Linked DNA regions of Homo sapiens: region 2 is linked to region 1. The links are contacts of gene promoters, found by promoter capture Hi-C in human tissues and cell types (Jung and others, 2019). All regions are on one chromosome and are shown on one strand. Each heading gives the region's core, a stretch centred on a gene start or on the middle of the fragment in contact. The rest is flanking DNA. Distances are from core to core; before and after follow the strand shown.

Region 1 (2,907 bases), core at 408-2,907:
GGGGTGTTGAGAGCATCCTCCCTGAGTGCTTAGGCACATCTTGTACCAAGTTGTCCCCTACCCCAGCTCTCCCATTTGCAGTTCTGAGAGCAGCCGTAACACCACGGTAGAGACATTTCTAGGTCAGTCCCAGGGCCCAGAGCGTACCCCCGACAAACAAACAAAAAAATTATCTCATGCCTCCTGTATTCTGTGTGCATCGCACCTAGTTGCCTGTGAGCCCTGCAGCTAAAGTCTCGGAACAAAGCCCAAGCGGGGAAAAGCTTGCCCGCAGCTGGCAGGCCATTTAAAAGCAATTAAAACGCGTTTAAAGAGGAATGCGCGGTGGGCACCAAACCCCGCTTTAGACTGTAGTGGGGGGCGTGATTGCAGGAGGAGCGAGGTGCAAGTCCCGCTGGCTGGACACCGGAGCTTTTTACTAGAAAGCTCCAAGCAAGGCAAGCTAAAGCCAAGGAAGCCAAAGTCCTTTCTTCTACCCCAGACTTCTGCCTTCATTTCCCGGTCGCTGTTTGCCGACCTTTGGCTCCTGGGACGCCCCCAAAGCGGGCGAGTGCTATAAGTCTCTCTGGTCAGGGGTCGCGACGGTGTGTGGAGTGTGGGAGTCAAAGCTAGTGGTTTGGCCCTGGCGCCTCCCGGTTGGGCCTCTGGACTCTCAGAGCCCCGCTGCAGACGCTCTGACCCTGTGCCCCGCGCGAATGGGCGCGCCTCGCCCTTGGAGCCCGCGTCAGAGCCAGTACCTTGCTCATCCTCTCTCCATATGCCGCATACCCACAAGCCGACATCGGCAAGGGAAAAAAAAATATCTGAGGAGGTTCTAGGAACTGAGAGCCTCCCAAAGATTTTTTTTTTCAGGAAAAAAAATTACTTTAAGGCGAAATTAGGCCTCAAATTAACATATTGAAGGGCAGAAGGGAAGAAAGGGTCTCGATGCCCTGAGCCCCCAGAAAGAGGGTGCTTTTGCAGAGAGAGCTGCGGACAGCGTGCGGGGGTGGGCTTCTGGCTTCTGACTGAGGAGACCCGAGAGCGCAGGGGAAAACACAAGCTGCGAATGGTCCCGGCACCTACAGCGCTCAGTGCACCCCACCCAGGGCTGTCGCCTCTCGGCCACATCCTCTCCTCTCAGCCCGACCCCGTCCAGCTCTCACAGTTAAAGAGGCTACTTGCTCAGAATAATAGGAGTCCCCTTCCACCCGGCAGAATTAGCAGGTAACGACTCAATCACTCCCTTCCTCCACTTTCTCTCGTACCCCTTTCCCGGGTCAGGGCACTGAGAGGCGAATGGCAGTGGGCAGAGGTCTGAATGGTCAATACCTTTTTCTTAGGCCCGGGCTCCCTGCGGTCTGACAGGTACTTGCCCAGCTTGAAGGTACCAGGCACCGGTCCGAGGCGCAAGCCGGCCGGGATGCAGCAGTCGGCACTCACGCTGGTGGCTGGCGCTCTGGCGGCTCCGTGCATTGTTGCCGCCGCCACCAGGCAGGCGCTCGGGTGCTCCAGGTCCTTGGAAGGGCGCGAGTGACAGAGCTGGAGCTGCGCGCTAGCCAGAGAGCCGCGCCCCGACGTGCGTCCTCCGCCCGCGGAGTGACGCGGGCGGGCATGCACTGCGCCTTTTCAATCGGGGCGGGAGCCTTTTGGCACCGCTAGCGCAAGGGCGCGGAGTTTGGTGAGAGAGTTGCGCTGCGAAGCAGCTGCAGAGTCCCACCCGAGAGGGTCACATGGAGTGGTTCCCTCAGCCCCCTGCATAATCGAGGCCGCTGAATGGCTAGCACACAATGGTCCAGGCGACCTTCCCATTCCTAAAAATCCAATTTGTCAAGGGCGAAGAAAAGGCACTGGTGAATCAAAGGTCCGGCGGGACCATTAATCCTCAGCATGGGGTATTGTCCTCCAGACAGTTACGATATTTTAAGTGACAAATCCACTGTATAATTTCTCCATAAATTTTACTTCCTTTTATTGTTCCCCGACAAACCAGTTTTGGGAAATAAGTGACTACTTTAAGTCTACTTGGCTGATTCCTTTGAGCCTTGATCTACTTCAAAGATTTTTAATTCTCTCCCCTTGGCTTTATTGTAAAGGAGATTAAACAAAGAGATGGAGACTGTTTGGAGGACTTGTTAACTACTATTGATTTCTGGCGTGTGCCATACAGAAATTAGGCAGGTACTTGATGGGAAAACACCAGAAAATACCTACACTTTTTAAATAACAACCATATTACCATTTCAGGGGATTGGGTTCAGGCCAGTCGTCTATTCAGAACCGCTTTAATTCTCACTTCTGTCCCATTTCGTCCGAAAATATGATGAAGCCTCCAGACCAAGTTGAGAAGGGGAGGTCAACTGCTCATCACTTTTCTCGGGCACACCCCGGGCCTGCACTTTCTCTGGAGAATGGGAAACAGCCCCAGAACCAACAGTTTCGAATGGGGATCCTGCGCCCCGGTCCGCAGCCCAGGGTTGAAGAGGAAGAAGTTCTACCAGTGGGTTATTGATCACGTCCCCTAGAAGATGTCCTTGGACTAACTTCCCTAAAACCAGCAACCTGGACTTTTCTATTAAAAAAAAAACAGTAAACAAAAACGAAAATCACCGCAATCTGTTAAAGGTTGTAGAGAAGAGGGGCGAGGTGGGCGTTTGGGACAACTCTTTCTTACACCTACTTTGTGAACTAACAAGACGTTGTACTTCAGAGTTAAACCGGAGAGCTACCCGTTTTCTTTTAGGGAAGCCTCCAATTGGCGTGAGAACATTTATTTTCATAAATAGTAGCCAAGTAATCAAGTTCATCAGATATTTGTGATTTCTGCCGGCACCTGCCGCGTGCTGCTAGTTCTGAGCACAGCTCCCCAAATCCTATGCAGCCAGCACCGGAGCCCGATGCAGTTCTTCCAAGAGAGGCCTGAGTGGT
Region 2 (3,069 bases), core at 284-2,783, 69 kb before region 1:
GCCTGAGATAACTGCAGCAATGGCCATTTCCAGGAGTACTGCAGATGAAGGTTTATGTTTCCAGGTCCAAAAACCCCAGTAAGAGAGTGAAGGCCAGAGTCCCCAGGCTTGTTTCCCTAGTCTAGACTACACATGGATGATTTCTACTACCTGCAGGACCAGTCTGTCCTCTCAGCACACTTTGCTTTCTGCCATTATAACTCTGATTAACACAGAGAGCAATTTTCTGTTTATTTGTCTCTATCCCATACCAGTCCATGAGCATCATGAGAACAGAGACCACATCTGTCTTTTTGCTATTGTACTTCAAGCACAGACTACAACAATGCATGGCACATAGTAAGTACTTAATAATTATTTGTTTAATTAATCTATTATGGCCATCTTCCAAGAGGAAGATGCCCCATCTCTTCTCCTCAGCTACCCAGCCATGCAACAAAACACAACAGGTCCTAGAAATAGGCCCTTTAGAGTTCATTTCAGATCAACAACATTTGTTAAAGTGCTGTGTACACTGAAATCACAGTTGAAGCTGCCATGATCCCTGTGCCTGTCCAACAGTTACTTTTAGAAGTGTCTATTTGCACAAGATGGCCAAATAGGAACAGCTCCAGTCTACAGCTCCCAATGTGAGCAACACAGAAGATGGGTGATTTCTGCATTTCCAACTGAGGTACTGGGTTCATCTCACTGGGGCTTGTTGGACAGTGGGTGCAGGACAGTGGGTGCAGCCCACCGAGCATAAGCCAAAGCAGGGCAAGGCATCACCTCACCCAGGAAGCACAAGGGCTCAGGGAATTCCCTTTCCTAGCCAAGGGAAGCTGTGACAGATGGCACCTGGAAAATTGGGTCACTCCCACCACAATACTGTGCTTTTCCAACAGTCTTAGCAAACGGCACAACAGGAGATTATATCCTGCGCATGGCTTGGAGGGTCCCATGCCCACGGAGCCTCACTCATTGCTAGCACAGCAGTCTGAGATGGAACTACAAGGCAGCAACAAGGCTGGGGGAGGGGCGCCCACCATTGCCGAGGCTTGAGTAAGTAAACAAAGCGTCCAGGAAGCTCAAACTGGGTAGAGCCCACAGCAGCTCAAGGAGGCCTGCCTGCCTCTGTAGACTCCACCTCTGGGGGCAGGGCATAGCCGAACAAGAGGCAGCAGAAACCACTGCAGACTTAAATGTCCCTGTCTGACAGCTTTGAAGAGAGCAGTGGTTTTCCCAGCACTGAGCTTGAGATCTGAGAATGGCCAGACTGCCTCCTGAAGTGGGTCCCTGACCCCCAAATAGGCTAACTGGGAGGCACCCCCCAGTAGGGGCAGACTAACACCTCACATGGCCGGGTACCCCTCTGAGACAAAGCTTCCAGAGGAACGATCAGGCAGCAACATTTGCTGTTCAGCAATATTCTCTGTTCTGCAGCCTCAGCTGCTGATACCCAGGAAAACAGGGTCCGGAGTGGACCTCCAGCAAACTCCAACAGACCTGCAGCTGAGGGTCCTGACTGTTAGAAGGAAAACTAAAAAACAGAAAGGACTTCCACACCAAAACCCATCTGTCGATCACCATCATCAAAGACCAAAGGTAGATAAAACCACAAAGATGGGGCAAAACAGAGCAGAAAAGCTGAAAATTCTAAAAATCAGAGCACCTCTCCCCCTCCAAAGGAACACAGCTCCTCACCAGCAACGGAACAAAGCTGGATGGAGAAGGACTTTGACAAGTTGAGAGAAGAAGGCTTCAGATGATCAAACTTCTCCAAGCTAAAGGAGGAAGTTTAAACCCATTGCAAAGAAGCTAAAAACCTTGAAAACAGATTAGACGAATGGATACCTAGAATAACCAGGGTAGAGAAGTCCTTAAATGACCTGATGGAGCTGAAAACCACGGCACGAGAACTATGTGACGAATGCACAAGCTTCAGTAGCCGATTCGATCAACTGGAAGAAATAGTATCAGTGATTGAAGATCAAATGAATGAAATGAAGCAAGAAGAGAAGTTTAGAGAAAAAAGAGTAAAAAGAAATGAACAAAGCCTCCAAGAAATATGGGACTATGTGAAAAGACCAAATCTACATCTGATTGCTGTACCTGAAAGTGACGAGGAGAATGAAACCAAGTTGGAAAACATTCTGCAGGATATTAACCAGGAGAACTTCCCCAACCTAGCAAGGCAGGCCAACATTCAAATTCAGAAAATACAGAGAACACCACAGAGATACTCCTTGAGAAGAGCAACTCCAAGACACATAATTGTCAGATTCACCAAAGTTGAAATGAAGGAAAAAATGTTAAGGGCAGCCAGAGAAAAAGGTCAGGTTACCCACAAAGGGAAGCCCATCAGACTAACAGTGGATCTCTCGGCAGAAACTCTACAAGCCAGAAGAGAGCGGGGGCCAATAGTCAACATTCTTAAAGAAAAGAATTTTCAACCCAGCGTTTCATATCCAGCCAAACTAAGCTTCATAAGTGAAGGAGAAATAAAATCCTTCACAGATAAGCAAATGCTGAAAGATTTTGTCACCACCAGGCCTGCCCTACAAGAGCTCCTGAAGGAAGCACTAAACATGGAAAGGAACAACTGGTACCAGCCACTGCAAAAACATGCCAAATTGTAAAGACCATCGATGCTAGGAAGAAACTGTGAGCAAAATAACAACTAACAAGCAAAATAACCAGCTAACATCATAATGACAGGATCAAATTCACACATAACAATATCAACCTGAAATGTAAATGAGCTAAATGCTCCAATTAAAAGACACTACTGGCAAATTGGAAAAAGAGTCCAAGACCCATCACTGTGCTGTATTCAGGAGACCCATCTCACATGCAGAGACACACATAGGCTCAAAATAAAGGGATGGAGGAAGATCTACCAAGCAAATGGAAAACAAAAAAAAAGGCAGGGGTTGCAATCCTAGTCTCTGATAAAACAGACTTTAAACCAACAAAGATCAAAAGAGACAAAGAAGGCCATTACATAATGGTAAAGGGATCAATTCGACAAGAAGAGCTAACTATCCTAAACATATATGCACCTAATACAGGAGCGCCCAGATTCATAAA

What was found. The method cuts DNA at HindIII sites, captures the fragments that hold promoters and counts their contacts. A contact is called where the count stands out against the background at its distance.
Region 2: a fragment that was not itself captured here is called in contact with the fragment with the promoter of PRDM13 in region 1 in 3 of the 25 tissues and cell types used here (bladder, small bowel and spleen).

Annotation. Positions count from the first base shown.
Region 1 is chr6:99,605,583-99,608,489 of GRCh38, reverse strand. PRDM13 (PR/SET domain 13) reads right to left here and starts at 1,657. Exons shown (of 4, transcript NM_021620.4): 1 at 1,312-1,657. The coding sequence starts at 1,455. The HindIII fragment of the contact is 8,735 bases long and covers 1-2,907 here.
Region 2 is chr6:99,674,457-99,677,525 of GRCh38, reverse strand. No RefSeq gene overlaps it. Among named protein-coding and RNA genes, the nearest start is that of PRDM13, 69 kb to the right of the region's middle. The HindIII fragment of the contact is 3,759 bases long and covers 1-3,069 here.